Linked DNA regions of Homo sapiens: regions 1, 3 and 4 are each linked to region 2. Evidence: promoter capture Hi-C in human tissues and cell types (Jung and others, 2019). All regions are on one chromosome and are shown on one strand. Each heading gives the region's core, a stretch centred on a gene start or on the middle of the fragment in contact. The rest is flanking DNA. Distances are from core to core; before and after follow the strand shown. Region 1 overlaps CREBBP (CREB binding lysine acetyltransferase). Region 2 holds the start of CORO7 (coronin 7). Region 3 overlaps SLX4 (SLX4 structure-specific endonuclease subunit). Region 4 overlaps TRAP1 (TNF receptor associated protein 1).

What was found. Contacts are between HindIII fragments. The study calls those that stand out against the background at their distance.
Region 1: a fragment that was not itself captured here is called in contact with the fragment with the promoter of CORO7 in region 2 in 2 of the 25 tissues and cell types used here (dorsolateral prefrontal cortex and spleen).
Region 3: a contact is called between a fragment that was not itself captured here and the fragment with the promoter of CORO7 in region 2, in 1 of the 25 tissues and cell types used here (dorsolateral prefrontal cortex).
Region 4: a contact is called between a fragment that was not itself captured here and the fragment with the promoter of CORO7 in region 2, in 1 of the 25 tissues and cell types used here (dorsolateral prefrontal cortex).

What each region holds. Positions count from the first base shown.
Region 1 is chr16:3,873,481-3,877,010 of GRCh38, forward strand. All of the region lies in intron 1 of CREBBP (CREB binding lysine acetyltransferase), which reads right to left. Among named protein-coding and RNA genes, the nearest start is that of CREBBP, 5.5 kb to the right of the region's middle. The HindIII fragment of the contact is 5,503 bases long and covers 1-3,530 here.
Region 2 is chr16:4,414,690-4,418,094 of GRCh38, forward strand. CORO7 (coronin 7) reads right to left here and starts at 1,907. Exons shown (of 28, transcript NM_024535.5): 1 at 1,770-1,907. The coding sequence starts at 1,829. It overlaps CORO7-PAM16 (CORO7-PAM16 readthrough), which reads right to left and starts at 1,907. Exons shown (of 31, transcript NM_001201479.2): 1 at 1,770-1,907. The coding sequence starts at 1,829. LOC124903635 (a long non-coding RNA gene) reads right to left here. Exons shown (of 3, transcript XR_007064963.1): 3 at 2,036-2,272. The HindIII fragment of the contact is 38,450 bases long and covers 1-3,405 here.
Region 3 is chr16:3,605,060-3,608,370 of GRCh38, forward strand. It overlaps SLX4 (SLX4 structure-specific endonuclease subunit), which reads right to left. Exons shown (of 15, transcript NM_032444.4): 3 at 1,415-1,639. Among named protein-coding and RNA genes, the nearest start is that of SLX4, 4.9 kb to the right of the region's middle. The HindIII fragment of the contact is 4,547 bases long and covers 1-3,311 here.
Region 4 is chr16:3,689,424-3,692,783 of GRCh38, forward strand. It overlaps TRAP1 (TNF receptor associated protein 1), which reads right to left. Exons shown (of 18, transcript NM_016292.3): 2 at 1,404-1,562. Among named protein-coding and RNA genes, the nearest start is that of TRAP1, 26 kb to the right of the region's middle. The HindIII fragment of the contact is 7,881 bases long and covers 1-3,360 here.

The DNA.
Region 1 (3,530 bases), core at 16-2,515, 540 kb before region 2:
CCTTTCCAGAACTGCTGAGAAACAGGTCTTGCTCCAATCAGACTAGCACTCCCAGTAAGTCCTAGGACTTACAAGGTACGACAACGTCCCTGGTTAACGCTAGTGTCAGTTCCCATTGGGCGGATATGCCAGACACACATCATCTCAGGCTACCCTCATAACCACCCTGAGATGGGAATTGTTATTATCTCCATGTTACAGATGAGGAAACTCTGAGCTCAGAGAGCTGATGTAACTTGCCCCAAACATGCTCTGGCCTCAGCACTCCTAAGGCCAGCTGGTTTGGTGGCCGGGTGGGAGCCCATGGGTACGGAACTCGGAAGCAAATAACAGACCCAATTAGAAGATAGGTGGCAATCTGCTTGAAAGTAAAACCTTAACAAGAAAATGATAAGAACTTTAAGGGACAAATACTATATAATTCTTTCACTAATTCCCTCAAATATTTCCTGAGGGCCTACTATGTGTCAGGCACTGCCCCTGGGGAGGGAAGTGCTGGGAAGAGGGCCGTGGAAAGGCTCTGGAGTTCTTACTGACGCTCACCTTCTGGTGTCACAGGAAGGGGAGCAAGCCTAGAGCCTGAGATGACAAAGACGGACGAGAAATGCCATGTGGGCCACTGGGGTCAACAAAAAGCAAAAGAACAAAGAAAAATGCAACCGGTCACCAGGCTTTCTGATAAATTCGTCTGATTTTAAATCAAGTCATCCATATAACTGTTACAGAGGAACAAAAAAGACAGAGAGAGAGGGCCCTGCTAAGCTCTGAAGTGCTCCAAGACAGGAGACCCAAGCTAGCCTGCTGCTCACCTGGGCTCTCCCGGGCTCCACATCATGCAGCTCAGAAAACTTGCCCTGCTGCTGTTTTCCTTAAAGCTGTCTGTGCAGCCGTGGTAGGCCAGTGCTCCCCAACGGGTGCTCAGAGAATGAAGTCCCACGTTATATCAGTCACCAAATTGCAGCCCATGGGCGAAGTCCTCAGATGCCAGTCTTTACAACTAGAGTTTTACTGGAACACAGCCAGGCCCACTCGCCTATGGCTACTTTCTTGCTGAAATGGCAGCCTTGAGTAGTTGCAACAAGAGACCATATGGCTCAGAAAGCCAAATGCGTGCTCTCTGGCCCTTTGCAGAGGAAGTCTGCGGACCCATAATAGGCTAAAAAGAGTTCTAGCGTCAAACAGGATTGAGAGTGGTCCAACTGTAGCCCCTCTCTCACAGTGCCCAATCAGGACACCAAGGCTCTGGGAAAGTCTGCAGTCAAATTCCTCAGCTACAAGCAACAGCATCTGAGCACAAACCATTTGTTGAGAAATACCTCTTAGCATGCCCTCTAGTTTCTTGGAATACATGTGAAGAGCTGGTTTGAGTAAGGTAAAGAGGGGTGCCCTCACTAATGGGACCCCAAAAACTAAACTGACAAGCTTTTGCAATCTTCAGAAACTCACAATAAGGTACATTTCATCTTAACTAAGGTAAGACACACTTTGGCAAAATCATTTTCCTAACTGTTTTCAAATACATCAAGTAAAAACACAAGTCAGCAATTATGGACCCCCCAGGTAATCACATACTTTGCCACACAATTACAACACACTACTTAGAAGCTGTGAAAACACAGGCGACTAATCTAAGCATCAACTTCCAACTGCAGGACTCAGTCTCTTTGTAAGTTATGTTCAATTCTGTTTACAGAATCAAATCTGAATGTTCAGCCAGGAGCGACTTTCCATCTTCTGAAGGCCCTCTAAGGCGCCCTGCACATGACTTGTCCTTGCCTACCTTCATCCCTGACGACCTTTGAATGGGGCCACCGCTCTCACCCCTCTCAGTTATTCAAAAACGAAGCACGGTCATGAAATGTCCTAGTCCTAAAAGTCTCTATGACAACTTTTATTCCTACTTAGCCAGAACTCACTGATGGGGTAACATAACCGTTTCTCATTCTCCCTGAGGTAAACAGGAACACGAGCCCACACACGTCACGCTGAGGATAACACCAGAACCAGAGGGAAAAGGGGGACGCCCTAACCCAGGAGGAAGAATACACTCCTGGCTGCCCCCACCACAGGTGGTTACAAACCTCCCCCTTAGTGATCTCATTCATGTGCGGGAAGGCCGCTACTGAAACTCACTAAGCTTGGCAGGTTCCTGGGTCGATTCAAGTAAATGCATTGTTTACAGATAGAGACTTAGAAAATAAATATATAGAGCTACGGACTTTAACAATCTAGTTTGGATCTGGTTTTGACCCTGTATCACCTCTCAAGTCCAGTTCCTCACCTAGAAAATAGCAGTAACAGCATCTTCCCTTCCTCACAGGACGCTGTAAGGATCAAACTGAGGTGACGTGGAGAAAAGCACTCTGATACATAAAGTACCAGACATACATAACAGACCATTTGGTTGACAACCATATTCGCCACCAGCTTTCTTTAAATAAGCTTCCCTATTGCATTTAAAAGGATTCACGTCATAAAATGTAATCACAACTGCTTAGAGCCACTTATACAGCACAGGATGAAACACAGCTATGTTCAATCTTCAGAATGTAGTTTTTCTTTTCCTTTTTCCCCCAGAGACAGGGTCTCACTCTGTCACCCAGGCCAGAGTGCAGTGGCATGATCACAGCTCACTGCAGCCTCGACCTCCTGGGCTCAAGCGATCCTCCTGCCACAGCCTCCTGAATAGCTGGGATTACAGGATTGTACTATTACACCCAACTAATTAAAAAAATTTTTTGTTTAGATGGGGTCTCACTATGTTGTCCAGGCTGGTCTCCAACTGCTGGCCTCAAGCAATCCTCCTGTCTCAGTCTCCCTAAGCACTGGGATTATAGGCATGAGCCACCACCCTGGCCTGCAATTTCAAAAAACTTTATAAACAGTCTGTTGTGTGCAAATTTTGCAATAAAGCTGACCAAAAAAAAAAAAAAAAAAAAAAAAAAACAACCCAGAAAACAAAAAACAAAAGTCTACTGCTTGCCTGGATATTTGTCTTATACTGTTAAATCATGAATCTCTGATGTTGAAAGACACAATATGCTATTTTAACTTGGACATATTAAATAAAGAAGTTTCCAAAACACCCAACTAACTATATACCGGTAATATAAAGTCCCCACTTATTGTAAGGGTGCCAAGTAAAGGAAGACCTCATGTATGAGAAAGTGTAAAGGCTTCTACATAATACAAGAAAATGCTACTTTAACATCTGAGGCCATCAAATTCTGTGCCTCTCCAGGGCTGCTGCTTCAGTGGGGTGAAAGGTACCGTTTCTCTCTTGCTACCCTCATTCGCAGCACATTCCGTATTTCTGCATCATCTCTGCATAAGCTTCCCAGGCTTCGGCAACTTGTTTGTCATCAGTGGCAGTGACATTCATCACTCTGAGGTGCTGCATGACCTTCGGGAGTGCTGTTTGCAACATCCATGCCCCCAGATGAGCAGCACCCTGGCTGAGCAGCTCCCCAATGTCGGGTGCATTTTTCTCTCAGCTCACTGCCACCCTTCACAGACACATCTAAGTGACA
Region 2 (3,405 bases), core at 657-3,156:
CAGTCTGTAGTTCCATGCCTATCTGTTTATGTTGCTGGACTAAGGCCCACCCAGGAGCAAGAATTAGGGCCCCTCAAGTATTCTCCAGACCCCTCCAAGCAGTACTTAACTGCACTCAGAGCCACCGGCTGTCTTGATGCAAACCTAGGTACCTCCTCCTAACTTTTCTTGTTTGTTTTTTTCTTTTTTTGAGACAGTGTCTCACTCTATTGCCCAGGCTGGTGTGTAGTGGCACAATCTCGGCTCACTGCAACCTCCACTTCCTCGGCTCAAGAGATCCTCCAACCTCAGCCTCCCAAGTAGCTGGGACCACGGGAGTGAGTCACCACACCTGGCTAATTTTTTTTTCTTTAACTTGTTGTTCAGAGGGGTTTCGCAATGTTGCCCAGGCTGGTCTCGAACTCCTGAGCTCAAAGCAGTCCACCCAAAGTACTGGGATTACCGTGAGTCATGGTATCCAGCCCCTCCCCCTAACTTTTCAATGGCTCTGCACTGCAATCAGAATAAAACCCAACTTCTTCCGGTGGCCCTTGGGTTCTGCAGGACCACTCTGGACTCATCTGTCACCATACTGCTCCGGCCATCCCCTCCATCCACTCATGCTCACTTTCCATTTCTCCACCAGGCTCTTTCTCAATTCTCACCCTTCTGGCCTCAGCTAAAATGCCATCTACTCCAGGCAGCCTTTCCTGACCACGCTACTGAGACTGGCCCCCTCCATTCTCCATCCCAGTCCCTCATGTGTGTTCTTCAATGTCGTTATGAAAACCTCCAATGCTCTTGTTTGTCTGCTTGCTGTCTCCCTCATGAGGCTACAAGTGCCACAGGGGAAGGAAAATGCCGTTGTGTTCACCGGGATGTCTCCAGCAGCTTAGCACAGCATAAAGTGGAAGCAGAGGAAATATAGTCCACACTACAAAAACGGAACCTCTACCCAGACTGCCCTGACTTGCTCTGGGACCCTGATGGGGTCACTTGAGGTCAACTCCTAGGCCCAGTTATCGGAGGACACTCCCAGGCCTTACAAATAACACGGAAAGCGGAAGAGCAGAGCTGACATCGTTTCCAAGGCGCACCCCTCATCAGTCCTCCTGCCGTTTCGGGGGTCCGAAGGGTCTCCCGGCACCTGGCTCAGCAATTCTTTGGGGCTCCACCTGCTCAGGCTTCCCCAGGCCCCACCCAGCCGTGGCAGCATCACCGAGATAAAGAAAGAGCTTGCGCCAGCGGCGAGAGGAGGAAGCACCGGCGGAAACCCGAGGGAGGGGCGCGTGCGGCCGAGGGGCTCCCTCCCCACCACTGACACACTTGGGCTCGCCGGGGCCAGAGGAGAGAGGGGCGTCTCCCCACAGCCCAGCCAGGGGCAGGGGCGACCCGGGGCGGCAGGGAGGAGGAGCCAGGCGCCGGCAGCGCCCCGAGCCCCGGCTCCCGGCGAGGCCGACCGGAAGCTGGGAAGGCAGGCGGCCTCGCAGGCCTGGGCCCCGGCTAGGAGGGCTGCGCCGCCTCGGGGGTCCCGGGGCGAGGTGGGCGAGGCGGGCAGACCGCCAGGGTCACCGAGCGCCAGAGCGAGTCACGGGAGTGCCGGACTCTGCCCTCCGGCGGCGACGAAACGGCCCGGACGCCGGGGCCCTGGCCTGAAGGGGGGTTCCCCGGGGATGGAGGTCTCGGGGTTCCAGACGGCCCTGGAGGGCACCCCTGTGGGGTCCGGGCAGGGGGAGGGGCAGCCGGACGGGGCCCGAGGCGACAGCGCCCGGTCCTCGGGCCGGACTCACCTCGCGGCGGGGCGGCCGAGCCTCGGTGTGCCGGAACTTGGACACCCTGAAGCGGTTCATGGCGACGGGCACGGCGGCGGACGCGTCTTCGAGGACCCCGGGCGTCGGGTCTCAGGTGCACGCTGAGCAACCGCGACTCCCGCTGCCTCGGCCCCACCCGGGACCCAATGCCGCGGTCACGCCCCCGGCGCGCCCCACTGCCAATCGCAGCCGTCTCCGGCCCCCTGGGCCACGCCCCCAAGCCCCTCTCCTTTCGCGCGCGCACCACCGGTCCCGCCTCCCGGCCAATCCAGGTACGGCCGCCCCGCGAGGCCACGCCCTGATACCGAGGGGACGGACTGGCGCGGGTGGGAGGTCACGTGGGGCGCAGCTGTCAGCCCACGTCTCCTGCGGTGCTTGCTTGCGTGGGGTCTCGGCTGCAGCATTCGCGATTTTGTGTGCAGGATTTGCTGTGGAGTCTTTGCGGTGTACCTAGCACGCCTTCCAGCACTATCTACCTCTTCCTGTAGAGAGGGGAGAAATTAGCTCCATTTCAGAGACAGGAAACCCCCGGCTAAAGGAGAGTGTAAACTGTCGGTCCCCAGGTCACACCAGTGGTAAGAGGCAGAGGGGGAACAGGGGCCCAGGTCTAAAGCAAATCCCTGTCCACCGGGCCTACTCAAAAGCCTCTGCATCCGGCCAGGCGCTCTGCATCCGGCCAGGCGCGGTGGCTCAGGTCTGTAATCCCGAACTTTGGGAGACTGAGGCAGGAGTATCCCTTGAGCCCAAGAGGTCGAGGCTGCAGTTATCTGTGACCGTGCCACTGCACTCCAGCCTGGGAGACAGAAAGAGACCCTGCCTCTAAAAATAATAATAATAATAGCTTTTAATTTTTCTTTAGTATTTATTCATTTATTTGACACGGAGTCCCTGTCACCCAGGCTGGAGTGCAGTGGCGCGATCTCAGCTCACTGCACCCTCTGCCTCGCGGGTTCAAGCAATTCTCTTGCCTCAGCCTCCCGAATAGCTGGGATTACAGGCGCCTGCCACCGCGCCCAACTAATTTTTTATTTTTAGTAAGAGACGGGGTTTCACCATGATGGTCAGGCTGGTCTCGAACGAGACTCAAGCAGTCCTCCCAACTTGGCCTGCCAAAGTGTGGGGATTATAGGAATGAGCCAACGCACCCAGCTGATTCTTGCATTTCTAAGGTTTGAAAAGCAATGCTTACATTTTATCTTAGTTCGGGCAGAAGTGTATTTACTGTGAACCAAAGTCACTTGTGGTTTATTGAAAAGGCTTTTTGTTTGTTTGTTTTGAGACAGAGTCTCACTCTGTTGCCCAGGCTGGAGTGCAGTGGTGTCATCTCAGCTCACTGCAACCTCCACCTCCTGAGTTCAAGCGATTCTCCTGCTTCAGCCTCCCAAGCAGCTGGGATTACAGGTGTGCGCCACTACTCCTAATTTTTGTATTTTTAGTAGAGATGGGATTTTGCCATGTTGGCCAGGCTGGTCTCAAACTCCTGACCTCAAGTGATCCACCTGCCTCAGCCTCCCAAAGTGCTGGGATTAGAGGCATAAGCCACTGCGCCCAGTCCAAAAAGGTTTTTAGAAAATCATCAGGTTGGCCGGGCGCGGTAGCTCACGCCTGTAATCCC
Region 3 (3,311 bases), core at 50-2,549, 810 kb before region 2:
ACAGTTGTGCACCATCATGCCCAGCTAATTAAAAAAAAATTTTTTTTTGAGTCAGAGTCTTGCTCTGTTGCCCAGGCTGGAGTGCAGTGGTGCAATCTCGGCTCACTGCAAGCTCTGTCTCCCAGGTTCACGCCATTCTCCTGCCTCAGCCTCCCGAGTAGCTGGGACTACAGGCACCCACCACCATACCTTGCTAATTTTTTGTATTTTTCATAGAGATGGGGTTTCACTGTGTTAGCCAGGATGGTCTCAATCTCCTGACCTTGTGATCTGCGCACCTCGGCCTCCCAAAGTGCTGGCATTACAGGCGTGAGCCACCACGCCTGGCCCCTAAAATTTTTTTGTAGAGATGGGGGTCTCACTATGTTGTCCAGGCTGGTCTCGAACTTGTGACCTCAAGTAGTCCTCCTGCCTTGGCCTCCCAAAGTTTTGGGATTATAGGCATGAGCCATCATGCCTGGCTTCATTGTAATTAAAACAACAACAACAAAAAAACCTTTTCTGAAAGGAAGAGTTCTTTGTGAATACTGAGGGTTATCTTTTTAAAAGGAAAAAACTGAAAGGGAAAGCTTTCATAATAAAAAGTCATAATTTTTAAAAAAAGGAGGCCAGGCACAGTGGCTCACGCCTGTAATCCCAGCACTTTGGGAGGCCAAGGCGGGTGGATCACGAGGTCAGGAGATCGAGACCATCCTGGCTAACAAGGTGAAACCTTGTCTCTACTAAAAATACAAAAAATTAGCCAGGCGTGGTGGTGGGAGCCTGTAGTCCCAGCTACTCGGGAGGCTGAGGCAGGAGAATGGCGTGAACCTGGGAGGTGGAGCTTGCAGTGAGCTAATATCGTGCCACTGCACTCCAGCCTGGGTGACGGAGCGAGACTCCATCTCAAAAAAAAAAAAAAAAAAAAAAAAGGAAGAGGGCCAGGTGCAATGGTTCACGCCTGTAATCCCAGCACTTTGGGGAGCTGAGGTAGGCAGATCACTTGAGGTCAGGAGTTCGAGACCAGCCTGGCCAACTTGGCGAAACCCTGTCTCTACTAAAAATACAAAAATTGGCCAGGTGTGGTGGCACACGTCTGTAATCCCACTGGCTGGGGCAAGATAATTGCTTGAACCTGGGAGGCGGAGGTTGCAGTGAGCTGAGATCATGTCACTGCACTCCAGCCTGGGTGACAGAGCAAGGCTCTGTCTCAGAAAAAAAAACAAAACGGTACCTTATCAAGGAAGCTAGGTGGGAAATGATCCCAGAGACTCTTCATTCTCTGGCTGGATCCAGTGAAGTGGCAAAGGTAAAACATCAAGCAGAGAGCCTATCCACAGAAGAAACTCAACAAATGCTGATTCCTTCCCGCCTCCCTTCCTCAGAGTTGTATTAACTTATCTCTGTGTGGAAGACAGAAACACACTCATCATACCATTCCCCGCCATCATCTCCTCTTGAGGATCCTTTGGGACATTTTCTTCCCGCGCAGCCTCGAGGGAGCACTCTTCTGAAGCGTGTCTCAAACGCTCGGGGTCTGCTCTCTTGAACTGCTGCATTCGCTGTAGGACCAATTGTGCTGTGCGGGGTTTGGAGGGACTTGGCACTGCTGTTGTCAAACAGGAAGGAGGAGGCTGGGAGTCGCTGTTGGGCACATTCTCTGGCAAGGAGGAAAATATTCACAACCATCTGTTGTAGCTGGAGAAATAAAAGACTTTTCTACCAGATACAGGTTAGACGCAAGTTTCAAGAGTCCTTTATCAACTAGTTTAGGTTTGACTCACAAATGTGAAGAGGACTGGTTGCTTGTTGGTAACCTCTTTGTTTATGGCAATATAGACATAAATATCAATAACAGGAGGGGAATGGGATGTGACTGCTAATGAGCATGGGGTTTATTTTTAGGATGATAAAACTGTTCTAACGTTAGGTAGTGGTGGTGGTTGGACAAGTCTGTGAATATACTAAAAACCACTGAACCATACCCTTTTAAATGGTGAATTTTATGGAATATCAATTATACCCCAATAAAGCTATTATTAAAGAAATATTAATGACAAAGGTTTATGTCCTAGATCAGTTCTTCTTTAACTTGGGATCCACGGATGATCTTCAGTGGGGATCCATGAACCCCATGAAGTTGTGTGCCAGTTTTGCAGATACGCGCATGGATACGTGTTTTGGGGGAACCATGCATAGATTTCATCCGACTGGCAAAGAGCACGAGAGACCAGTAAAGTTGGTGAGGCAACACTGCTGATGCCTTCCAGTAGTCTATGCGACCTGAGACTCTACCACCACTCTACTGAGAGGTTATTAAGATCAGGAAGTGAGGGCAAAGGAAATTTAGAAACAGAACTCAGGAGCTCAGAGAGCCCATGGTGTATTATATATGCAAGGGTAGTTTTCAGTTTTGCATGAAGAATGTGTAGTAAGCATATAGCTCAGTATACCAAGGGCAGCAGGGCAAGAAAACTGCTTTAAACAGTTAAAAAATTATCCAGGCACGGTGGTGGGTGCCTGTGGTCCCAGCTACTCGGGAGGCTGAGGCAGGGAGGACTGCTTGAACCTGGGAGGTCAAGGCTGCAGTAAGCTATGATAGCACCACTGCACTCCAGCCTGGGTGAGAGACCAAGATCCTGTCTCTAAAAACTAAGTAAGTAAATAAATCAATAACAATAACAAAGGAAAAGATTAAAAGGTCTTCAGAGAGAGAAAGAAAGAACCTGAAGATTCTCCTGGGACTTGAGCCCACACAGAGTCCTCATGCGGCCCTCTCAGCAGCCTATCCAAATTGGCTGGCCCAGTCCAACTTACCCACTTTGGAATAAATTCAAGAAAACAAGAGAAGCAGCATTATTGTGTTGTTTGTGTAACTCATGTCAATCATATAACAGAATTTCATAGGAAATTCTGAAAGAGCAGAGGACTCCAAACACAATCATGTGAAAAATTCACACGGGTTATGTTTTTCTTGACTGTTGTTTAAACCAGGAGTCAGCCGGGCGCAGTGGCTTACGCCTGTAATCCCAGCACTCTGAGAGGCTGAGGCACGAGGATTGCTTGAGTCCAGGAGTTCAAGACCAGCCTGGGCAACATAGTGAGACCTCCAGCTCTAAATTTTTTTTTAAGCTTAAAAATTAAAAAATAAAAACAAACCAAAAGTTAGCAAACTACGGTCATGTGGCTGGCTGCCTGTTTTTGTAAATAAAGTTTTACTGGCATATGGCCATGCCTGTTCATTTACATATTGTCCACGCCTGCTTTCTCACTATGACAGCAGAGTTGAGTAGTTGTGACAGAGTCTGTGTGGCCTACAAAGCCAAAATATT
Region 4 (3,360 bases), core at 38-2,537, 730 kb before region 2:
TTAGTAGAGACGGGGTTTTACCATGTTAGCCAGGATAGCCTCGATCTCCTGACCTCATGATTGGCCCGCCTCGGCCTCCCACACATTTAAGATCATGAACAAAAAGAAAGAAGCAGACAGAAACAAAGTCTGGCTGGGCACCATGGCTCATGCCTGTAATCCCAGCACTTTGGGAGGCCAAGGCAGGAGAATCACTTAAGCCCAGGAGCTCAAGACCAGCCTGGGCAACACAGAGGGATCCCGCCATCTCTACAAAAAATACACAAAGTAGCTGACGGTGGTGGCACACACTTGTGGTCCCAGTGACTCAGGGGGCTGAGGTGGGAGGATCACTTGAGCCAGGGAGGTCGAGGCTTCAGTGAGCCATGATTGCACTACAGCACTCGGCCTGGGTGACAGAGAAAGACCCTGTCTCAAAACAAAACAAAACAAAAAGTCTCTCAGAAAGGAGGTCTCAGGGCAGGACAAATCCTCCCACTGCTGAGGCCAGACATGCCTCGGGCTATGTCGAGGGAATGCTGAGCCTGGTTTCCCAATGTGCATGGTTACGAGAACTGGACTGCCTCTAAGAACCAGATTATATGTTCTTTCTTTTTTTTTTAGAGGCAGGATCTGGCTCTGTTGCCCAGGCTGCTATGCAGTGGCAGGATCGTGCTCACTGCAGCCTCAACTTCCTGGGCTCAACCGATTCTCCTGCCTCAGCCTCTCAAGTACCTGGAACCACTGGTGTGTGCTACCATGCCTGGCTAACTTTTTAATTTTTTTCTGTAGAGAAAGGGTCTATCTTGCCCAGGTTGGTCTCGACCACTTGGCCTCAAGCAATCCTCCTGCCTCGGCCTCCCAAAGTGCTGGGATTACAAGTGTGAGCCACTGTGCCTGGACTATATTCTTCAAAAAAGCGGTTTCCAAATTAATTAGTTAGAAATCAAAATAACAAGAAAACCTCACTTCTCTTTTTAACTTCAAAGATTCTACTCTTGTCGACCCACTTAAAAGCCAGAAATGGAGCCACTTCAGGACTGGCTCCAAAGACTGCTTTTTTATACTTCAGAGGGAATGAAAAGACAGCTCCAGAATTCGGTCCTGCGCAGACTGGGCCAATGCTGAGTTTCCCCTCCCGCTTCCATGATTATTAGCAGATGTGCCATGAATCACCACTCAGGGGAGGTGCCGGACGGCAAACTCACGGGTGGCCACCAGAGGGGGCAAGACACACCCGACACTGGCAGAAGTCCCTCGCTGGGACAGAAATGGAGGGCGCAGCACTCCCTACAGCCAAGACCTTCTGATTTCACACCTAAGGCGGTGGCTCTACCAATCACTGCCTCCACCCTGAAAATGCCCCTTTACGCACAGCAGTGAACCAAAAAGCCCTCCCAGACCAAAGCACGAGCCAAGGCTACCCTGCACGCTCTCTGTGCTGCTGATAATCGAGTGCAGGGGTTCCTCCTTGTCCTCGGCGGTCTGCGTGCTGAACAGTCGTCCTGCCTGCAAGCTCCAGGCTGGGTTTCGCCTGGGGCCCAACTGGGCTGTGGTCCTCCGAGGACACAGAATTGGTTTTCCTGAAAAGACAAATATGCAGAAAGAATGAGAATTAGGAAGACACGAGAAACAATATGGTAATTCGTCCCATCAAGGGTGTCTAGCAGAAGCTAGCGTGGACATCTCTAAGTCGGGCTGTTGCTGAAAGAGAAATCCACAGGACCAAATGCCACAGTGTCAGGGTGTGGTTTTGGCAAGGAGCCCTCACAGATGTCATCAGTGTAAGATACTGTGTCTTCTCAGAACCGCAGAAGCGAAACTGGAGGGGGTGGGCTGCTGCCTTCTTTTCAGAGGGGGTCTCGCTCTGTCACTGCGATCACAGCTCACTGCAGCCCCAACCTCCTGGACTCAGGCAATGCTCCTGCCTCCGCCTCACGAGTAGCTGGGACCACAGGCACAGACCACCATGCCCCCATAATTTTTTAAAAAATTTTTTGTAGAAATGGGGTTTTGCTATGTTGCCAAGACTGGTCTCGAACTCCTGGGCTGAAACCATCTTCCCGCCTTGGCCTTACAAAGAGCTGGGATGACAGGCGTGAGCCACCATGCCCAGCTGGCAGATGCCTGCTGACAGCACTTCCCACATTCGCCTCACGGGTGACACCTCGCATCAACCTACCAAACTGAAACCTGTCTCGACCCTCGCAGCCCCTGCAGAAGCCCCCGATGGGCCACACTTCTTTGCTCTTGACAGTCAAGCAAAAAAAAAATCCTCCCAAAAGGGATCCAAATATTTAAATGTTAATATTCTGAAACTGTCTCATCTTCTAAAAGTTGATTCTTTCCCATTGCTTTTTCATCCAAAACAGATTTTTTAAAAAAAATTTGTGTACTTTAAAAACTGAAAAACAGCTGACGATGGGTTCTACCTTCTAACTAAGAAGGAGACTTGTCTTCTGTAACTTCCTGCTCAGTCCAGTGGGCTGAGAAAGTTGCCGGCAGAGCCCAGCGAGGGAGGAAAGCAGCCAATGTGTCCCCAGCCGCACGCAGTTCACCGACGCAGGCCCAGAAACCAGACACTTTCACTCCAACACAGGACTGGACCGACCCAACACCAACACCCACTGACCCCAGGGACCACATACCAGGACCCTGCCTTGGTCAGTAGATTTGCAATACGTGATGGTGTCAAGGATATGTGGCCAGCCAGCCACGCCGTGTCAAAGTCTAAGCCTAAATGAACCGCATCTAACTGGGAGCCTCTCCTGTTCTTCACAAATTTGTAACAAGTAGAAAGGAAAGACAACAGAATATCCAGGAATCAAGGTTTTAAAAATCAGCATATCAGCCAGGGGTGCGGTGGCTCACGCCCGTAAACCCAGCACTTTGGGAGGCTGAGGTAGGCGGATCACATGAGGTCAGGAGTTCGAGACCAGCCTGGCCAACATGGAGAAACCCCATCTGTACTAAAAATACAAAAGTTAGCCGGGCATGGTGGCAGGCACCTGTAATCCCAGCTACTCGGGAGACTGAGGCAGGGGAATGGCTTGAACTTGGGAAGTGGAGGTTGCAGTGAGCCGAGATCGTGCCGCTGCACTACAGGCTGGGTGACAGAGCAACATTCTGTCTCAAAAAAAAAAAAAAATTAACATATCAACTTTCATACTCCTAAAAGGTACAAAAACTTGCCTTTTTTTTTTTTTTTTTTTTGAGATGAAGTCTCACTCTTGTTGCCCAGGCTGCAGTGCAATGGTGCAATCTCGGCTCATTGCAACCTCCACCTCCCGGGTTCAAGCGATTCTCCTGCCTCAGCCTCCCGAGTAGCTGGGTTTACAGGCGCCTGCCACCACACCCAGCTAATTTTTGTAGTTTTAGTAG